Linked DNA regions of Homo sapiens: all the other regions are linked to region 3. Evidence: promoter capture Hi-C in 16 types of primary human blood cells and fetal thymus (Javierre and others, 2016). All regions are on one chromosome and are shown on one strand. The core of a region is centred on a gene start or on the middle of the fragment in contact, and the rest is flanking DNA. Distances in the headings are between cores, read along the strand shown. Region 1 overlaps LOC105375508 (a long non-coding RNA gene). Region 2 overlaps LOC105375508 (a long non-coding RNA gene). Region 3 holds the start of LINC03008 (long intergenic non-protein coding RNA 3008).

Region 1 (3,358 bases), core at 125-2,624, 610 kb after region 3:
ACCATCAGATAGGCAAAGCTTTTAAAGATTGTTAAAACCCAACACCAGGAAGGGTGTGAGGCAACAGTCCCGTAGAGTTTTTGGGAGTGTATACATCTGTACAACTTTTTGAAAGATAATTTGGTAGTAGCTATCAAAAACCCAAACGTGCATACTTTTTGACTCAGCAATTTCACTTCTAGGTATTAATACTATAAAATACTCACATAGGTGCACAAATATATATATAAAAGATTTTTTATTAGAACATCATAGTAGTCAAAAATAGGGACCAAATTAAACATCTATCAGCAGAGGAATGGTTACATAAATGAAGTGAGTCCGTAGGGTGGGCTGCTGTGACAGGATGGATGACACATATGTGAGTACTGATAGAGTACTGTGTAAATTTATTTATAATGAAATGCATTATTAAGTGAAAAAAGCAAATAAGAAAACATGCATATTGTCCTATTTAAAAAAAATTACAAATCTACATGCACACACACATACACACACATAGAAGGTCTGGGTAGATACACATCAAAGCTCAGGCAGTGGTTCTTAAAGTAGGGGATCATGAAGGAAAGGTACACATTTAACTCAACAAAATTTGGTCTTACTGGAACTTTAAAAATGCAAATGTGTTTATGTTTTGTTTTATTTTGCTTAACAAATATCTTGGTATTTTACTAAGCTTTTAAGTTAGTGAAATAAAGAGGCATAATTCAAACATATTTATACACTTTAAATTAACTAAGCCCAAGTAGAAAACAAAAAGGTATATAATTCCCAAATCATGAATGAGAAGAAAGAATAAATTTGATTACTACAGTAAAAAAAGAAATAAGAAACAGGAAGTATTACAAATAGAAACCATAAAATAAAGTGACAGAACAAACACCAAGTATAACTTTTGTCATGACAGATGTGGCTTAAAAATATCTTTCAAAACACAAAAGACTCAGATTGAGTAAAAAAAATACAATTTAGTCGTAAGCTGTTTACAAAAGGAGAAACTGCAAAATGAAATTGACAGAGAAGGTAGAAAAGTAATGAGATGGGCAAGAATATCAGAGGCAAATGCAACCCAAAGAACCCATCCATGCATGCTAATATTAAAATCACATGAAATAGAATTCAGGATGAGAATATCAAATGGAACAAATATAATTATTTTTATATGAATAAGTGATATAATGTACTATGAAGGCAATACAGTCAATATAAATGCTTCCAAATAGGGAACTGGTGAATTATATTATGATACCTATTTATTTACAGTGAACCTCTACACAGCCAGGAAATTGCTAATGTAGAAAACATATAATGACCTGCAAATGTTACAAACTATAAAGCAAAAACAAGGTTGTATACTGTAAGTATGACATGATCTCAATTTCGTTTTAACATTTTATTAAAAAGAAAAACGACTGGAAGGCTCACAGTATCAGGGTGCCATGCGGAGGGAGGACAGACATAGCGAAGCAGTCCTGAAACAACACTCGGTCACGTGTGAGGACATAATAATGGGTGTTCAGCCTGGTGGCTGGACAGCTCTGCCTTCAGACCAGCTTTAGCTGCTATGTCTTTTCCCCTTTGTTTTCCAGCCTTCTCACTTCCTATATCTCTTGGCTCCGTAACAGGACTGCCTGGTAATAGCTCATAATCCTTTTTCCTGAGTCTAGTGTGTACCATTGTGAGCTATCACTCTTCCCGTAAGGTTTATGTGATTTCTGTATTTGGTTCCATTATTGATGTTGTGGGATATCCCATGGGAGGTGTCGAGACATTAGGAGGCCATAGATTGTGTTGGAAGCATTTAGGTGATCAGGGGAAGGTGCTGTGTGTTGCAAGGTGGCCAAATCCAATGAGAACAAGATGATCCCCTGGGGACAGATATCTGCATTGATCCTGGAGCTCCTATTGAAGGCTTTCTGTCTCCCCTGATAACATCTTCATAGCATCTCATGGGGATTGGGTTGTTGTGGTGCTGAGAAGGGAATAAATTAAGAGAAAATTGAGAAAATACTGCTATGGAAGAAGGGGGTCTTGATTTATATAAGCCGTGGTCAACATGTTCTCCCTGCAGCTAAGCTTGAGGTAGTACATTGCCTCTTCTCTGATGCTGGGTGCCATCACGAGGCCAGAAAATGTTCCTAGGTTTGGTGAGCCACATTAATCTCTGTCCTTCTCTGAATTACCTTGGAACACTGGAATTTAAAATGTATCCTAGACTGGTACCAGTAGGGACAGGGGAATTTAAGTTACTGACAAGAGTAGTTGAGGAATAGATTGGACACTGACAATAACATCTCAGGGGAAATAATTGGGGGAAGACTAGTGCCAAAACTACAGTAGGAATCTGTTACTCTGGGACACAGATGCAGGGTTAATTGGAATGAAATGTTACTACTTAGTGTGTAAAGGGAGGAAACTTTACTAAATTTCAGTAGATTTCTATGAGACAGAAAGGATATGCAGACTGGAAATCTTCTCTTGCCCTTTACTATCTGTGACTTAGGGCAAACCCCCTAGAACGGTGGTTCTTAAAGCTGAGCCTGCACCAGAAGCATCTATAGGGCGTGTTAAAATCCTGATGGCTTGTCTCCCTGCCAATCTCCCACCCCAGATTTCTGACCGGGTAGGTCTGGGGTGGGACCTTAGAGTTAGCTTTTTCTTTTCTTTTCTTTCCTTTTTTTTTTTTTTTTTTTTTTTTGGAGATGGAGTCTTGTCCTGTTGCCCAGGCTGAAGTACAGTGGGACGATCTTGACTCACTACAATCTCTGTCTCCAAGGTTCAAGCAATTCTTGTGCCTCAGCCTCCTGAGTAGCTGGAATTATAAGCACCCACCACCACGCCTGGCTAATTTTTGTATTTTTAGTAGAGATGGGGTTTCACCATGTTGGCCGGGCTGGTCTTGAACTTCTGACCTCAGGTGATGCCCCAACCTCGGCCTCCCAAAGTGCTGGGATTACGGGGATGAGCCACCGCACCCGGCCAGTATTAGCATTTTTGACATGGTCCCAGCTTGATGTTGTTGTTGCGGGTCTGGAGACCACACTTGAGAACTACCTGCTTAGAATCCCTATGGACAGGTAAAGAAAGTTAAGTTAGTGAATGAAGGATCTCAAAAGATCCTCACTGTATTGAAGAACTTCCCCATTCAAGGGTTGTTAGACAACTGTTAACATTTAAATGGGAATGGCTGTCTGGCTGCTCAGGCAATGACCTCAGAGGTGCTGTCCCTCTTTCAATACATTGGGTCTGGTCCTTCATCTTACAGATTCAGTAAAGCCACAGATTGAGGAATGGGGTAAAGGAAATAATATAGAATCGAGATTTTAGATAAAATTTGTTCAAGCCCCTTCCAGCATCC
Region 2 (3,607 bases), core at 529-3,028, 680 kb after region 3:
GACCTTGTGATCTGCCTCGGCCCCACAAAGTGCTGGGATTACAGGTGTGAGCCACTGCGCCCGGCCCATAATGTTATATTTCTAATAACCTCCATCCTGTTTTTATTTTTTTGCTATTGTTAAGTACAACATATCTGTATGTAAACTTTCCATATCTTGTAAACCACACAATGTATTCTTATTTTTATTTTAGTCAGTTTTCCTTTAAAGAAGTTAAGTAAACAAGTAAATTTTAAACAATGTGTTTACTGTTTTTGGTACTCTTAATTTCTTCCTATAGATCTGTTACTAATTGGTATTGCATTTCCTTTATCCTGAAGTACTTCCTTTTACATTTCTTGTAGTGCAGGTCTACTGGCAACAAATTCTATCAGATTTTACTTATTTGTAAATATTTTTATTTTTATTTTCTTCTTGAAGGGATATGTTTTCTAAAATTCTAGTTGACTTTTTTTTTCTTCAGCATTTTAAAGATTTCCCATTGCTTTTTGGCTTCCATTGTTTCTTTCTTTTCTTTTCTTTTTTTTTTTTTTTTGAGACAGAGTCTCGCTCCGTCCCCCGGGCTGGAGTGCAGTGGCACAATCTCAGCTCACTGCAAGCTCTGCCTCCCAGGTTCATGCCATTCTCCTGCCTCAGCCTCCCGAGTAGCTGGGACTATAGGTGCCCGCCACCACGCCTGGCTAATTTTTTGTATTTTGTAGTAGAGACGGGGTTTCACCATGTTAGCCAGGATGGTCGCGATCTCCTGCCCTCGTGATCTGCCCGCCTTGGCCTCCCAAAGTGCTGGGATTACAAGCATGAGCCACCATGCCCAGCTTTCTTGTTTTTTTTTCCAGCTCTGTCACCCAGGCTGGAGAGCAGTGGCACGATCTTGGCTCACTGCAACCTCCACCTCCCAGGTTCAAGCCATTCTCATGCCTCAGCCTCCTGAGTAGCTGGGATTACAGGCACATGCCACCGTGGCCAGCTAATTTTTTTATTTTTAGTAGAGACGGGTTTTTGCCATGTTGGCCAGACTGATCTTGAACTCCTGACCTCAAGTGATTCACCCACCTCAGCCTCCCCAAGTATTGGGATTACAGACATGAGCCACTGTGCCCAGCCTGCTTCCATTGTTTCTAGTAAGATGTCAGCCATAGTTCTTATTGTTGTATGTACTGTGATATATCCCTCTCTGCCTTCCCCCTTCCCCCAGCCGCTTTTGAGATTTTCTCTTTATTTTTGGTTCTCTGCAGTTTGACATTTATGTATGTGCCTCAGCATAGTTTTCTTTTTGTTCATCTTGCTCAGGGTTTCCTTAGCTTAGTGGTGCTTTGGGTTTGTTCACCTTCAAATTGGGAAGATGTTGGTCATTATTTTTTAAAGTATTTTTTCTTCTCCATTCTCTCTCTCCTATTCTTCCGGGACTTGAATTATATATATTAGATCACTTCAAATTGTCCCACAGATCAGTGATTCTTTATACATTTTTATTTCAATCTTTCTCTCTTTTTTTCTTTCAGTTGAAACATACAACTTTTTTGATGATACACAAATGAAGCTTTTGGTGGATAAATTGAAGTCAAAACAAATAACAAAACAGTATGTCATTTATAATAGACAGGTTCACTGTCAATTCAGAGGAACCAGTAAAAAATATTTCAATCCAAGCAGCATGATTAAAATCACAAATATGTTTTCAGCACAAGAGGACTATTTATTTGATATTCATAAGATGGTTCAGCTTGAAGCAGGTGACTGTCACAGATAACATCACTCTGGGTGAGACATTATTCAAAACTAGCAGCTGAAAGGATCCCTTTATTATATGACTAAGTGGAAAAGCAGTAACTTTCAATTTTCAATGCCTCCAGCTGCAAAACCAAGAAATTTCTTGAAGTCTTTTGAGAGCACATAACCAATTAGAATTTGTTCACTAGTTTTATAACTTTCACTTTCACCGAGAGGTCATCTGATTTGCTAAGGCTCTAATTTTCTTAACACACACTCCAAATGCAATGCATACGTTTGAAAAGGGAAGCTTTATTGAATTCTCTATAGCTGAACACTTCTACTCTGAGATTGTCATAGATGATCTCAAATATAGTAAGGGCATCAATAAAAATTTCTTATTCCACATAAGAATTGTAGAGATAATTAAATATGTAGACACTTGGGTACTGAGAAGTTTTTTCTTTTTTTAGCATATCTGATTTTCAGCAAAATTCAAAATTATTTTCAAAATCTCAACCTTGATTCTTAGCCACCAAAGCCATAAAGGGTGCACCCCTGCCACTTAAACACATAGACTACGCCCATGGCTGTTACATCTTGCACTTGGCATGCTTGGTGTGACATCATCCTGGATCACATTCTCCAGAAACACCTTCAAAACCTCCTGGATCTCCTCATAGATGAGGCCAGAAATGCTCTTGACACCATCACACCAAGCAAGATGCCAGATAGGAGGCTTGCAGATAGATGCCTTGCAGGCTGTCATACGTAGGACCTTGCAGTGACACTTAGTTCCTTCCTTACCCAGTCCTTTTCCACCTTTGCCTCAGCCAGACATGACAAAACAGATGCTTTTTCTTTTTGTGGTTCAGTTTGCAAAAATTTTATGACCTGTGTTCAAATTTCACTGATCTTTTTTTCTGTGGTGCCCAATATGATGTTAAGGGTACACAATGAATTTTTCATTTCATATATTGTATTTCCCATGTCTTCACCTATTCCTTCTTTCTTTCCTTGTAAATTCCTAACTATATTTATAGTAGTTGTTTTAAAGTCATAAGTCTGCTAATTCCTCTGTCTAGGTCATCTTGTGGGTCTCCTATTGATGATTTCTTTCTCTTATGTATCAGATTTTTTTTGCATCTTCCCATGTCTCAATATTTTACCGTAAGGCAAAAATTGTGTATAAATGATAGTGGATACTGCTGTATAATATTTTGTGTTTTGTTTTCACAGAACTTTCAAATCCTTCCTTCCATTCAGGTTTATGGGATAATGGGTTGTTTGTCCAGTGCCAACTAAGATGTGAAGACTGGAATTGGGCTACAGTATTAACCCCAGCTTCCTGCATTGTTGCCACTAAGTGGTTCATCCCTTTGATACTGTCAGAATTTAACTGGAAGGAGATTAGTTGCCACATGAGTTGGTTTGGATGACTTTTGGATTCAACTACAATTAGGCTTTAGAATCAGAACACTCAAGACTGCACAAACTTTCTCTAGTTTCTAGCCTCATGCCCACTGATACTTCAGGATACCCCTTTGTCACTTTTGCAGCAAATTCTTAGAGTGGAGAGGGAATTGTTGGACTAAATAATTTATGTTTGCATTAGAGCTCTTCCAAATTCCAATTCGTCTTGCCAGCCCATGCTATTATTAAGTATTCAATGGATTTTTTTTTTTGTTCTTTGAAAAATTTCTCTATCTATAGCTAGGCCACTTCTCTACTCACCTATGCCCAGAGTAGACATTGGCCTCTATATATAAAAATGTCCACAACTCTTTACTCATATGTAAAGGGCTTGCTATACTCTGCTGTTTAGTTTATTATGCCTATTTGTATCTACTTCTCGATGGCTTTGGGGATAAGTGTGAGAGTTTTTTTGTTTTATCTG
Region 3 (3,153 bases), core at 298-2,797:
TGCCTGGGCTCACCCTGCACTGCACAGGCTTGCTGCCCACAAAGACGCGGTTTATAAGAACAATAGGCACAGGGGTGTCTCAGAGCTACTTGCATACTAGGGCATCCAGGACGAGAACTCCAGCTTTACACTGGATCTAACCCCGGACCCCAAACACACACACTAACCCAGAGCCCAGCCTCTGCAGCCCCTGCCATGTCAGCCAAGCATTTTCAGTTCATTTTCTCCTCGGCAAGCCTGTATTGAATCGCAGGCCTAGAAGTTTTATCCCCGTTTCACAGATTGGCAGGCCAAGACAAGACAAATTCAGTGATTTGCCAAGGGCCAGAGAAGGGAGTCCAAGTCTGCAAGCTTGCAAGGTCGCGTTCATGAGAACTTTCATCCTCCTGGGACCCGGCGGCAGGCACATGGGCCTGGATAGTTACTGAGAAAATTCTTTCAGAAGGGCTTTCGGGGACGTGAAGTCACCCCTGGCTTCCCGGGATTCTGGGTTGGGAGCAGCCGCGCAGGGGCGGTGAAGCCAGGGGCCAGGGCGGTCCGTGCTGCGGGCGGCTCCCCAAGGCCCGGTGCGCTGGGCTACCCGCCCGCTGGCCATGGACTTGCCGCCTGCAGCGCACATGGCTGGGGAGGAAGAGCCGTGGATTTCAGTCTGTACACCCAGACGACTAAGAAGCTGCCGCCCGCTAGCGGGGAGGGGACTCGGCCGGGAGGTGGCCCCCGCAGCCCGGCGCCGCCGCGCGTCCCATCCTCGAGGCCACCGTCGCTCACCGAACATCTGGCACGTGCCATTGGTGCTGGGGTGCTGCGTGAGCGGGCCCTGCCTTCGGGAAGTTTCCATTGGGGAGGAGGCGATCGATCAGACCACAGCAAACGAGCAAGATGACCACAGTGGCCCATGGAGGGGGAATAGGAGCTGTGTGGCGTAGAAACAAGGAAAGCCTCCCGCCCGGTGTGCACGGGGAGCTAGAAAGTGTGACCAGAGTGTTCGGGGCAGGGACAAAACCCAGCTTCTGGTGTCTTCTGCAAGGGGAAGAAGCCTTGCGGTGGGAGCCAGGGGAATCCCCGCGAAGAGGCGGCCCCGCACCTATCCCGGGGCTGGGACGAAGGGTTTGGCTTCTCTAAACGCAGCGGGAAGCTTTAAGCCAGAGCCACACAGAGCATCCCTGTCGCAGGAGAGTGCCCGGGGGTCCCAGGAGGGCGAAAGCACCTTTGGGGCCGAGACACTTCTGCTCCCATCACCCCCGCCCCAGCAGGGCGCCCCTGTGCGGGGAACAGCCAGCAATCAGGGACAGCGCCCCAGGCCCCGCTGCGCCAGCACTGGCAGGAGGGACGCATGGAGGCCGGACGGAACTGGGGAGGGGGTGCTGGCCAGGGTGGGCTCAGGCCCTCCCCACTAAGGCCAGCTCGGCCCAGGGCCTCCCTGCGCAGCCCAGCGCGCCTTGTCGGAGAGGCTCCTAGGACCGGAGGGGAAGCCGCTCTGAACCGGAATGATCTGGTTTGGAGCGGGTTGGCTCCCTCCCTGCTCCCCCGCCCACTGCTCTCCCTCTCCTCCAGCGACGGGCTGGTTTTTGCCGCAGTCCCTGACCAAGGTAAACAGGAGGGAAGAGGAAAGAAGGCTGTTTCCATGGCAACCCAGGGGATAGGCGCTGTGGCTCTCCGGGATATGCGGGGGTGACTTCAGGGAGAAGAAAAGGCTCCCCGGAAAAGCCACAGGGAGGAAGGACCCTCCCATGCACACGGTGGGGTGCGTTCAGAAGTGGGGGGATGGAGGGAAAAGGAGAGGGGTCAGGCACCCTCGGTGAAGTGGAGAATTGAGCAGGGGCCTGGGGACACAGAGACACATAAGGGCCAGGGGTCATACCGAAAATGCAAGCACACAGGCTCTTCTGGCCACTCAACCCAGGGAGCAGAAAACAGAGGTGCCAGAGCTCTCAGAGATTCCGAAATCCACACCTCTCTGGTCCTTTCCAGAAAACCCTTCCAGGGGGCAGCTCAGCCTGGGGACAACCACAGAAGTGGGACCTGGGCCCAAAGACAGGTGTCACCTGAAACAGGCCACTGTTGTCCGCCTGCAGTATGCTGGGAGGACCAGCTCCCGCTCCACCCTGCTCCCCCTGGGAGGAAGGCTGACCCCTGCGTGGGAGTGTGACTGCTGGAAAGGCATCCTTGCTGCAGCTGTGAGTGTGATGGGACAGCAGAGTCACTCCTGCATGGGATTCTAGGGCTGGGGGTCCCAGAGGGGTGGCCTCCGCCCCTCCTGGGGGCCGAGGACTGTCACCATGTCACTACGGCACTCTCCAGCTGCTGACCAAAGCCCTCGCTAACCGCAGCCCTGCCATACTCTGGGTCTTTCCTCTGGAGCAAGGTGAAGAGACTGCAGCGAGGCGTGGAATTGGGAAGCTCTTCTGGTTTTATTAAAAACTCGTTCCACCACAGGAGTCAGCCTGGCCACTCAGGTGTGGGGCGGGTCTCTCCTCATTTAGCTTTCACCTGCGTGCCCAGGGATAGGAGAAAAACGGCACAGAGGGAGGTTGTAGGGAGTAAGCATCCTGCCCTGGCAAAGCTGAGTGAACGTGGGTAGCTTCAGCCCAGTGAAGCAGCAGCAGGGACGCCTGTGGAAACCTGGGTGGAGGTGCCTTCTGACCTTGGTTTGTCTGGGCCAGGGGGCGAATGCTTCTGGCAGTGGAGCTTCCAGGCCCGGAAAACCCAGGCCTCTTCTCCTCACGTGGGCCCTCAGGTGCTTGTGGACTGCCCGGAGACAGAACAGAACTGAGGGTGGGAGGGCCTGCTTTTGCCTGCAGAACACCCTGAAATGTCCCATTTACCCAGCTCTCTCCAGGGCCCGCACAGTCCAAACTTCTCTGGCCTCAACTCCTACCACTGTGCCTTTGCTCACTCTCGACCAGCCACGGTGGCTTCCTTGCTGCTCCTTGAGCGGTCAAGCGTGCTCCCTCTTTCTGGAGGTCTCCTCCTCCAGTATCCACATGGCTGTGTGCCTGGCCTCCTTCAGTTTTTTAATGTGGTCTTCTCAATGAGGCAGAGCCAGGGCTAGGGTGAGGCGAGTGAGGCAGCAAGGGCTTTCCTGCCCTCTCTGGTTAAAACTGTATAGTCTTCCCCTCTGCTCAGGACTCTCCACTCCCTGTCCTCTTCCCA

What was found. The method cuts DNA at HindIII sites, captures the fragments that hold promoters and counts their contacts. A CHiCAGO score of 5 or more calls a contact.
Region 1: a contact is called between a fragment that was not itself captured here and the fragment with the promoter of LINC03008 in region 3, in 1 of 17 cell types (erythroblasts). The highest score is 5.8, in erythroblasts.
Region 2: a fragment that was not itself captured here is called in contact with the fragment with the promoter of LINC03008 in region 3 in 2 of 17 cell types (megakaryocytes and erythroblasts); the score reaches 6.1 in megakaryocytes.

The regions. Positions count from the first base shown.
Region 1 is chr7:130,751,099-130,754,456 of GRCh38, forward strand. All of the region lies in intron 3 of LOC105375508 (a long non-coding RNA gene), which reads left to right. Among named protein-coding and RNA genes, the nearest start is that of KLF14, 19 kb to the left of the region's middle. The HindIII fragment of the contact is 1,400 bases long and covers 675-2,074 here.
Region 2 is chr7:130,820,961-130,824,567 of GRCh38, forward strand. All of the region lies in intron 3 of LOC105375508 (a long non-coding RNA gene), which reads left to right. The region is part of intron 2 of LOC105375509 (a long non-coding RNA gene); the gene reads right to left. It also overlaps the pseudogene LOC347674 and the pseudogene H4P1. Among named protein-coding and RNA genes, the nearest start is that of MIR29A, 54 kb to the right of the region's middle. The HindIII fragment of the contact is 480 bases long and covers 1,539-2,018 here.
Region 3 is chr7:130,140,184-130,143,336 of GRCh38, forward strand. LINC03008 (long intergenic non-protein coding RNA 3008) reads left to right here and starts at 1,548. Exons shown (of 2, transcript NR_149034.1): 1 at 1,548-1,589; 2 at 2,076-2,435. RefSeq lists enhancers at 782-1,445, 858-937, 1,118-1,257, 1,446-2,109. The HindIII fragment of the contact is 6,567 bases long and covers 1,134-3,153 here.